Linked DNA regions of Homo sapiens: all the other regions are linked to region 1. Evidence: promoter capture Hi-C in 16 types of primary human blood cells and fetal thymus (Javierre and others, 2016). All regions are on one chromosome and are shown on one strand. Each heading gives the region's core, a stretch centred on a gene start or on the middle of the fragment in contact. The rest is flanking DNA. Distances are from core to core; before and after follow the strand shown. Region 1 holds the start of IRS2 (insulin receptor substrate 2). Region 2 holds the start of LINC00399 (long intergenic non-protein coding RNA 399). Region 3 holds the start of LOC101927712 (a long non-coding RNA gene).

Region 1 (3,459 bases), core at 366-2,865:
GCGCACCCGGCACGAGCTGCACTTGGCCGCCGGCGGGGTGGCGGCCAGGCTGTCGGTGCGCGAGCGGCGCACCAGGCCCGTCTGGCTGGGGGGCAGGTTGACCAGGTGGTGGTGGCGGCGCGCGCCGGGGACGCTGATGGGGTGCGTGGCCGACGACCCCGACGATTGGCTCTTACTGCGCGGCCGGAACTCGAAGAGCTCCTTGAGCGCCTTCATGGCCTCCAGGATGGTCTCGTGGATGTTCTGCGCCACCACCGAGTCGTCCGCCTGCATCCACAGCTCGCCGGGGCCTGTGACGGCCGAGCGGCCCACCTCGATGAAGAAGAAGCTGTCCGAGTGGCCGCAGCGGCGGATGTTCATGAGCTGCAGCGTCACCGACGGCTGCTCGCAGTTGAGCTTCACGAAGCCGATGGTGCGCGCAGACAGGCACAGACGGTACACCCCCGTCAGGTTCTTGCTCTGGCCCAGACCCTTGGGCTTCAGGTTCACCTGCCACACCTCACGGTAGGCGGCCGTGGCGGGAGCCACCAGCCCGTAGCTGTCCTCGGCCCCGGCGGCGCCGGCAGAGCCGCCCAGGGCGCCGGGCAGGGAGGCGCTGCAGGACGCGGCGGGCGCGGCGGCGGGGGGCGCGTCTCCGGCGGCCGCGCGGCCCTCGCTGACCAGGTCGGTGAGCGCGCGGTACCAGCCCTCCTGCTCCTGCTCGTTCTCGGCGGCCACGGCGAAGTACTCGTCCTTGGTGTAGAGGGCGATCAGGTACTTGTGCTTGGCGTCGGCGCGCTTGTTGATGTTCAGGCAGCAGTCGAGAGCGATCACCCGTTTCGGCGCGCCTGCCTTGCTCCGCCACTTTTTCTCGCTCTCGTAGTACTCGAGCCGCGGCGGTTGCGGCGCCGACCCCCCGCCCGCCGTCGCCTCGTCGCCGCCCGCGCCGGGTCCGCGCAGCACGAAGAAGCGCTTGTGGCCATGCTTCTGCTTGCGCAGGTAGCCGCACTTGCGCACGCTGTGGTTGTTGTTGTTGTTGTTGTTGTTGAGGTTGGGGCCGTCTCCGCTCGCCGGCCCGGGCGGCCCGTGCCGCGGCGGGCTCGCCATCGCGGGCGCTTCAGGCCGCGCGGCCCGGGCCCGGCGCCCAGGGGTTGGGGCGAGGGGCGGAGGGGGCGCGGGCGGGGGCGGCTCCCTCCCACCCTTGCGCCCGGCCGCCCGCCCGATCACGCGTCCCTCGGGCCCAGGCGGTGGGGAAGGTCCGGGGAGGCCCGCGGGGGCCAGCACCGCTCGGCGGCGCCGCGCCCTCCGCGCTCTGGGGCTCCTGAGGATGCCCGGCGCGGGCGGTGGCCGCCCCCCTCCCCGGCTGCCTGCGGCCGCTGCCTCCTCGGGCTCTCGGGCGGCGCCGGGGGACGCGCTCGCTGGGCCGGGAGTCGGGGTCCCCGAGCCGCGGGGCCGAGCCTAAGGCGCGCGCGGCCGCACCGGGGCTGCTGCCGCCGCGTCGCGCTCCGGGAAGCCGGGGTGCGCCCGGGCGCTCGGGGTCCGCGCCGCCGCCGGGGCTGCTGCTGCTGCTGGTGTTGCTGCTGCTGCTGCCAACGGCGACCCGGGCTCGTCGCGGTCCCCGCCGCACAGTGAGTAACACATCGCGCACCGAGTGACTGAACTAAGAAGAGCAAAACAACATGTGACTCGGCGTTACGCAGGCACACACAGCGCGGCCGCCCCGCCCCGCTGCCTCGCATTGGCGCCGCGCCCCCCGACGGACGGCGCGCTCGGCCAATCGGCGCGGCGCTCGCGGGGGCGGGCCGCGCGCCCCCGCCCCGCCCCCCTTTCTCCCCGGGCCGCGTTTCCCGCCGTCCCCTCCCCCTCCCGCGAAGGCCCCGGCCCGGCCGGGCGGGGTGGGGCGGCCCCGGCCTCATTAATCAGCGGCTTGTTGTGGATGCCGGCGGAGGAGATGCCACCCAGGGCGGGAAAAGGGGCGCGGAAGAGGGGCGGGGCGGGCCACGGCGCGCAGGGCCCTTCCCTCCCGCCTCGGACTCAATTAATTGGGCTTGAGCTTCCGCCGGGGAGGGGGCGCCGGGCGGGGCCGCGGCTGGGCGGGGCGGGGGATCGGGATCGGCGGCGGGGGCTGCGGCCTTGCAGTGGAAGCATGGGCGGCGAGCCGGGCCGTGCTCTCGGGGCGCGGGGTCCCCATTTTGGGCGAGGGCGGCCGCTCCCGCGCTCGGGGTGGGCGCGCCCCATCCCCGTCCCCCGTTTCCCGTCCCCGTCTCCCGGCCGCATCTCCGTCCCCCCGCAGCCGCGAAACGCGGGGAGGTTCCAGGGCCCGCGGCCGCGGGTTCGCGAGCACCGCGCTCCAGATCGAGAGCGGCGCGCGCCCTTCCGTGGAGGACAGAGGGGCGCGGAGGGGGCGCCTGTGTCCCACCCGCTCGCGGGCGCTTTACGGGGCGTCCTCTGCGCCATTCACTTGTCAGCTTGTCGGGAAGTTGAAATCGCGTTTGGGAGGTAATAGGAGAAAGAGATCGGGGACGGCAGGCGGAGAAAGTGCGGTTTCCATAGCGCCGGGGAGAGGGCGGACCCGCGAGCCAGCGGTCCCTGAGCCGGGAGACCGCGCGGGCGTCTCTCCAGCCCCCGCAGGAGCGCCGCCTTCCTTCCGCAGGGGCGTCCTCTCCCCCCACCGCTGCAGGAGCACCCCCTTCCTTCCTCGGAAGCGTCCTCTCACCACACCGCTTCAAGAGCCCCCCCTTCCTTCCACAGGGGCGTCCTTTCCCCCTCCGAGGCAGGAGCGCCCCTTTTCCCCCCACAGGAGCGCCCTCCCCACCCCAGGAGCGCCCTGCGCCCAGCAGACGGGCAGGTGGGCGGGCGTCCACTACCTGTGTGCGCGGTGCGGGCGGTGACTGCCAAGTTGGAGATGCCCTTGGAGAACTGCTTCGAATTCATGTATCTACTGGGCTTTTGTGACTTTCAAAGCCTATAGCAAATAAGCACCCCTGCAATTACGTCTCCTCAATGACCAAGTCAGGGTGAGGTGAGGGCTTCCTGAGTTCAGATCCCAGCAAGCTCCCGATCCTGCGCAACGAAGAAAACTCAACAAAACAGGCTTTGGCTGTTTATTTTATTTTTTTTTTAATTGTGCCTTCATGAAATAATTTACAGCAATAATTTATCTTATAATATTGGTTATTGTTTTTAAGTCCCGGATGTTTACTTTTGGATGTCCTCTATAATTCATAGAAGTATCTTAAAAGTAATAAAATCTTAATCTAAGAGAAAATAAGTGTAATTTTTGAAAGAGTGATATATATTTTAATATGTTTTTGTAACATGTGACTTGAAGATTGTGTTGGCTAATTTTATGTGCCAAGAGAGCCCTGACTAGTACAAAGATTATAGCGTTTTTATTTTTAGCATGTATACAGTTAGGATTATTGATCAGTAGCCTGAATTTGGGAAGAATAATCATTGTGGCAAATATCACCCAGTGTG
Region 2 (3,459 bases), core at 709-3,208, 380 kb before region 1:
TTGGGAGGCTGAGGCTGGCAAATTGCTTGATCTCAGGAGTTTTAGACCAGCCTGGGAACATGGCAAAACGCTGTCTCAAAAAAAAAAAAAAAAAAAAATTGAAGGGTGTGATGGCCTGCGCCTGTAGTCTGGCTACTTGGGGGTAGGGGACTGGAGGTAGGGGAGTGAGGGTAGGGGACTGGGGGTAGGGGACTGAGGTGAGGGTTTCTCTTGAGGCCCAGAATTCGAGGCTGCAGTGAGCTATGATTATGTCATTCCATCCCAGCCTGGGTGACAAAGTGAGACCCAGTCTCAAAAAAAAAAAAAAAGAAAAGAAAAGAAAAAAAAAAGTTTAGGGCACTATTATTTCCTAAATGTAATTATAAACTGAATTCCTTGGAAATATTCATTTGAATTGACTAAAACATGATAATATTATGTCAATTTACGTTTCTAAATGTATTTTTATTATTTTCATCCTTATTAGATTATTTCCTAGCTGCTTTCAAATTAGTAATCATAATTATGCAAAAACAAACGTAAGTCATCAAAAGGTAGGCATGTCAGCATTAAACCTGCTATTTTTAGGATAAGATCCACTTTCCGTGAAGTTTGTTTTATTGCTTCCTAGTTCTCTGTGCAGAAATGTGCTCCGGGAGGCCTGCCCTGCTCCGCCCAGCTGTCAATCTGCTGCGCGTTTCCCTCACCAGCTACTGCTTCCTCCTGGGCCTCCCGGCATTCACCAGCCAGGAGGCAGAACTTGGCCTCCCTTAATCCTGAATAGGCATGCAGGGTTACATGCTAGACACAAAGGAAGCCACAGCCAGCAGAAGGCGAGCCGACAAGAACAAGGAAATGGTTCTGCCGTCACATCCCCTGGAATCTCTGTGCCTTGGTGTCTCCGTTGGTAAAGACAGGATGTCCTAGATCTCCAAGGTTTCTTGAAAAACTAAAACCCATTATTGTTTAATGCCTTCTAGAAGTTGCCTAGGAAACACTTCTTAGAAAAGATTCACAAACAGACCTGGAATGAATCCTTCTCGCTCTTCATACACTGAGACAGGTTGAAATCTAAGACCATGGCAGGGAGAAGCCGCACGCGGAGTCGCACTGTCAGGATCCAGGATCGGTAGGAAACAGGCTCTGTGCCCTGCTCTGGCACCAGCCGGGCTGGCCCTTATCTGAATCCATTCCAAATGCTTGACGCTACCTTAAGCCACAGAACTCAGAATTAGATATAATAGGCGAGGCAAATGCTCACTATTCATGATACAAGATAAATCCTGATAAGGATAATAAAAGTAGAAGTTATCTGTGATTAGCTTTAAACAAAGCTTTGCTGCCTTGAAAACACTTTCTTTTCCCATATCTATATCATTTTCTCCCACGGTAATTTCAAATCATGACCTTTTATTTGGAATTTGAGCTCTGTACTTTCCCCTCTAAATGAACTATCCTTAGAAACATTAATTATCTTTGAAAGCATAATTTCAGTAGCAGCAAAAGAATTCACTGTAATTTAAAAATTCTAGTATTGGTTATTTCTATATTTTACTAATACAACTAACGCTGTCATAAGCACCCTTGTGATAACCCCTTGCTTCAAGACTATTTCTTATGTTAAATTACCATAATTTTTTTTTTTTAATTCATGCATTCAGATCTTAATCAGATTGCAAGTTCTTCAGGCTTGGAACCATATCACCACAATGAACAGCCAAGTATAAAGGGTCCCTGGGGAAACCCCAACCGGCCTGCGCCCTGGGAGAATGGGGTGGAGCCACGGAAGTTCACGCGCTTTGCAGAGGGGAGGAGCCTGGCCTCTCCTGATCCTGGATAGTACCTGAGATTCAATCGCTGAGGCGGGAAAACCCGCTAGCAGGACTGTTGCTTTGCTGAGAGTCCCTGTTTCCCTTTTTTTCCTTTTGGCCCGATAAATTCCATTTTTCTCACCCTTCAAAATCTCTGTGACCCTAATCTCTCATGGCCATGTGACATGGGCCCTAAAGAGAAAGTCCTACAACAATAGCTTTCATATGATAATATCAGTGATAAGCTGTCGTTTACAATGGACGCCTCTCAGGAAGGTGTCCCTCAATAACTTGAACATTTAAAAAATTAAAAGATTGATTGTAGAGAGTCCACCTATGAAATGAGCACATATTAGGGCAGAGCGAGAAAATCAACGTAAAGAAACAGAGCAGCTGGCATGTCTACAAAACTCAACTTGAACATAGTGGGGGATATTAGCATAACCGAAGAAAACCGCTGTCAGCAGTTTGGGAGGGAAGGACTGGGTCTGAACACACAGACAAATTATAGCAAGAGCCACCAAGGTGGACGTTGCTTACCCAGTGCTCATGGAGTGAGTCAGAGCCCAAAGTATTCTTCCCCTGAGCAAAGCCATCTCTATTGTCAGATGCAGAAGCCCCAGCCAGGGGCCCGGAGATGCCTGGATTCTTCTAAATCCTGCAGGTCTTCGAGGCCTCTTGCAACTGTAATTGAGTTTCCTGTGTAGGTGCTCAGGGGAGAGAAAGCTCGGTTATTGAGACTTTCATTCTCCTGGACTTTGTAGAGTGATTTCTCATTGAATTTAAGAAATAACACACAGTCATTCAATTAGCAAAGCTTTAGCATGCAGCAGCTCTTCGCCAGGTCTTATGCCAGGCCCTGGGGATGAAAGGACGAACAAGATAACCCTGCCCTCAGGGAGCTTCCAGTCCAAAGAAACCCAGGAGGCTCAACACAATGTGATGATTTCTGTGACGTGGTTAAGTCCGGGGGGCCATAAAAAGCGGGGCCTCTAACCAGGTCTGTGGGCAGGCGAGCACTGGAGAAAGTTTCTATGAAGAGACAGCGTATCTGGATGAAAGCACACAGAAGAGTGTAAATTAGTCAGGTAAATGAATGAGGATGAGAGACCAGGGCTACGCAATGAGGAAGAAGTGGCTTCCAGGTAGAAAACAGGTGTGAGCCATTTTGTCCTCAAGAATCTACAAACTGTTGTGTGTGGACGGGGCACAGGTATGAAGTTATAGACCAGTAAGAGATGGGGCTAGACACACAGGCATGGAGACTCCTCCCCAGCCATGTGCAGGAGATCACTCTAAGGTTTGTGAGCAAGGAAGTCACCTACCATTTACTTCTGCAAAGGTCTCTATCATTACAGGGTGACTACTCTGCCCAGTACTATTGTAAATACTTCCCATACATTGAGCTGCACACTGGGGCTTATTATTCTCATTTTACTGCTGAGAAACTGAGTCCCTACCTCTTGGGCCCTTGCCCAGAGCCACACATGTGGCAGCTGCAGAGCTGGTGCCTTGACTTGGGTCCCCTGAGCCTGGAGTCTTGTGCACACAACTGCCGTCATGCTACACTGCCAGCGGGCAGGTAGACTGAGACCAGGGCATGGCCCCTCATCTGCATGTAAGCAAGGCTGCTGCTTCTCTGTGTGGGTGATGCTGGTAGGGTTTCCTA
Region 3 (3,459 bases), core at 620-3,119, 350 kb after region 1:
GGCGAGCAGGGCCCGCAGTCCACGCGCACTCAGGAAGTACAAATAGGGCGTGCATCAGAGGAAGCGCTCCCCACGCAGAGGCTGTGGGAAAGTGATTCAGCGCTGCTAGAATCCCCCTCTCCCGCGCCCTTCGCAGCGCAGCCAGGGAGGGAGGGAGCGCGCCAGAGCCTCCTGCAGGTGCGCGCGGGGCAGGCGGGCGGGCGGGCGGCGCGCGCGCCCAGGGGGCCCAGGTGACCGCCTTCCGCGCGCACACAGCCGGCCAGGGCGCACCCGGAAGCCCGTTACCCAAAGGCAAGGCTTGTTCCAGCCTAAAGCAAACTCATCCACACAACGTCGCTAGCGAGTTCCGTTTCCCTGTTTCTGGGAATTTGTGACTGTCAAAACAAACGTTCAGGTGACCATTGCCCTAAACCGCACTGACGAAAGGGCTAAGGACCAGGGAAGGAGCTGGTATGAAAGGCTGTGAGTTCACAGGGTGCCACGTGCAGGGTTGGAGAGACCCCAGCCCCATCAGATCTCCTCTCTCCAGAAGCACCCTCCCTCTCCATCCCTCCAGAGGCCGGGGCCATGTGTCCACCCATGTGGAGGTGTAAGGAGAGCCAGAGGGAGAGGTTCCCACGTGGACCCAATGGCGAAAAGTCTTGCAGTCAAAATCACTTAGAAACATTCTGCGCAGAGCTGGCTGAGTGTTGGGTGACCAGGTGATTGATGCTCAGGCGTTAAGGGAACAATGGGCTGTCCTCTGCATGCTTTCAGAGCTGGAGGGGCCTTGCCACCGGCAGAAGCAGAAAGATCATTTAAGCAGCACCCTGAACAATGAGTGTTTTCAGAAAGTTATCGAACAGGCTTGTGAAATATTTTTCTCTTGATGTCTTTAAAAGATATTTTCACTTCTCCCGCGTGATTCAGGGTGGTTTGGAAGTGGGAGAAGAAGGAGGCTTGAGATGTTGAAGTTCACTGCAAAGTCCCTCCTTCAGGACTCTAATTATTAAATATTTTCTCTATATATACCTTGTCTATCCAAATGATCATGAACCTGGGATGGAGGATAGGATTTATTACCTTGTCTCCTCCCAAGGGGTCCAGAGAAAGCCATGTGAAATGAGGGGATGATTAATAAACATTAGATTGACTGATGACCTCCACAGTATGTGAAATTGTCTTTTATCAAAGCAGCAGGGAGACATAGTAGAGTCAGACAGGTATAACTCAAATGATCAGAAGGATAAGGATCAGAAGCTTCTGAGAACACGACTTGAAAACATCTCTTAAATCTGGAATAACAAAGGTTAAAGAAGATATGAATTATGAAAAGAATGATCTTAACAAAACCTCAGATACTTAAAAATTACTCTAGGGGACACCTTTTAATATTGCAGAGAGATCATCTTAGGCCCAATAAAACTAAATGCTATTTTTGCATCATGGGAATTGAATATAGGGAATTTGTCATTCAGGTAGAAATGAAGTTGACCACAAAATTATCCTCAGAATGATTTAGACACACGTGTAAAGGAGAATGCAGAAACAATCCACATTGGTATAAAGTCTCCTGAGGCAGGGGCTATGCCGTGACATTGCATCCCTGGACCTCACTCGGGGCCTGGATGAAGGAAGAGATGCCGTGTGCACTTCGTCTTGCATATTTCTCATTTAATCTTCCAGGCAACACTCAGATGTGGGCAACCTTTATTCCATTTGTAATCCAACCCTCAACCTCACCCTATCTATTGCATAACTCCTTTTTAATTCCTTAACCTGACAAATTACAGGTTTCTTCCACAATTATTATTTTTTTTTTTTTGCACAACACTTCTTAAGGACGACATTATCGATTTCCATTTATCCTGTACCTAACCTAGTACTTGGGAAATAATAAGCACGCAGAATATGAATGATGAAGAGATGGATCAGTGGATGGATGGATGGATGAACAGATGGATGAATAGATGGATGGATGAACAGATGAATGTATGTATGGATGGATGGATGGTGGATGGATGATGGATGGATGGATGGATGGATGAGTAGATGGAAGGAACAGATGGAAGGAAGCAGAGAATGAGTAAAAGGATGATAAGTGATACAGCCAAACAGGTTTTCTCTTTTTTTGTAAATCCTTCTCAGTCTATGATTCTGATTTGGAAGAATTACAAGTAAAAATGACCTAATTTGTGCAGATCTCTGAGAGGTTTTATATCTTACCCAAGGTCACAAGTTTGTAAGTGGCAGAGTCAGCATCTGAACTCAGATTTGTCTAGTTTCATGAGGACGACAAAATGACTCTTGGGTTCAGATACAGGATGGGTGCACTGAGTCTTAGGCTTTAAGAATTCTGGTGTAAAAGCGATGGTACCCCTAATGAGTACAAGCTAATGCATGTAATTTAAAGTCCAGTAAGCTAGAGTGAAAAAGTGCATGGAAAGAGCCAGCATACAGCCATTAAAATCGAAAAGCCCATGAATGATGGTTAACTAAATTGGTAGACTATGGTATGTTCAAGCTTTAGAAAAGAGAGTGAAAAGATTTTTTAAATGACCAAAGTTGAACCGTTTCATTCTCTTCCATTTATCACCATCATACTTAAAACCATCAAAACAAGTACTCTGTATTGTGGCTGGTGCCAGTCCCAGGTAAAGTTTAGCAGGCCACCCCAGCCTGTCTCTCCTGCTGAGTGCATGGAGCAGCTATTAGAGGACTCTGTCAGTGAACGGTAGCAGACAGACTGGGGAAGAAAACCAGATTTAGATGTGCCACCAAAGCAGGACAATTTTACCATATTTTTTCTCCAGTTCTCCTGCTGTTTAGCCCAGATATGGCTGCAGCCACAGAAATTATGTGCAGAGTAAGTAAAGACACAATTTTAGAAACAAGGAGTCAACAAGAGGAATGTTAGGCTCTGAAAAGTAATGGGGAGTTCAGTGGGACGGTGGAATGAGGGAAGGAGATCCAGTAAAATTGTTCATGGACTCCTGGACTCATCTTTGATGTGCGCGTGCATGGATCTGACTCTAAACAGCTACCAAACTGAAAACTGCCCACACTGCCCACACCCAGACAGGCCGTTGGTGGGCACGCATGCAGGACAGATCTGAATAGTACCGCAAAAACAGTTCTACCTATAGAAGGTGAATTGAAGCTTGCAGCCTGGAACCTGACCCAGTCATTGGCCTGCAAAGACCCCCAAACACCAACATTTTTCCATAAGAGAAAGGCATACATCTACAGACTCACAAAGCTAAAGAACCCAATCCACACACAGACATGTCATAATTAGATGTCGGAAAATTAGACAGAATGAGAAATCCTAAAAGTAGCCAGAGACAGCACATTACTTAGAGGGGAACACCGATTTGAATGATTCAGGGTTTATTATCAGACACTAAATAGAGGCCAGAAGGAAAGAAAGTAAACAACAGATTTAAATTGTTGAAGGCGAAGAACTATTAGAATTCTATG

Evidence for each region. Contacts are between HindIII fragments. The CHiCAGO score rates a contact against its expected background, and 5 or more counts as called.
Region 2: a fragment that was not itself captured here is called in contact with the fragment with the promoter of IRS2 in region 1 in 3 of 17 cell types (M0 macrophages, monocytes and M2 macrophages); the score reaches 6.7 in M0 macrophages.
Region 3: a fragment that was not itself captured here is called in contact with the fragment with the promoter of IRS2 in region 1 in 1 of 17 cell types (megakaryocytes); the score reaches 5.1 in megakaryocytes.

What each region holds. Positions count from the first base shown.
Region 1 is chr13:109,784,968-109,788,426 of GRCh38, forward strand. IRS2 (insulin receptor substrate 2) reads right to left here and starts at 1,616. Exons shown (of 2, transcript NM_003749.3): 1 at 1-1,616. The coding sequence starts at 1,086. LOC124903211 (WAS/WASL-interacting protein family member 1-like) reads left to right here and starts at 2,117. Exons shown (of 2, transcript XM_047430835.1): 1 at 2,117-2,478; 2 at 2,633-3,459. The coding sequence starts at 2,126. The coding sequence ends at 2,870. RefSeq lists an enhancer at 123-752 and silencers at 1,594-1,823, 1,844-2,013. The HindIII fragment of the contact is 25,501 bases long and covers 1-3,459 here.
Region 2 is chr13:109,399,701-109,403,159 of GRCh38, forward strand. LINC00399 (long intergenic non-protein coding RNA 399) reads left to right here and starts at 996. Exons shown (of 2, transcript NR_126361.1): 1 at 996-1,108; 2 at 1,641-1,941. It overlaps LOC105370359 (a long non-coding RNA gene), which reads right to left. Exons shown (of 3, transcript XR_001750017.3): 1 at 3,251-3,459; 2 at 2,331-2,841; 3 at 1-1,189. The HindIII fragment of the contact is 1,294 bases long and covers 1,312-2,605 here.
Region 3 is chr13:110,138,311-110,141,769 of GRCh38, forward strand. LOC101927712 (a long non-coding RNA gene) reads right to left here and starts at 304. Exons shown (of 3, transcript XR_931726.3): 1 at 1-304. RefSeq lists a silencer at 199-278. The HindIII fragment of the contact is 1,264 bases long and covers 1,238-2,501 here.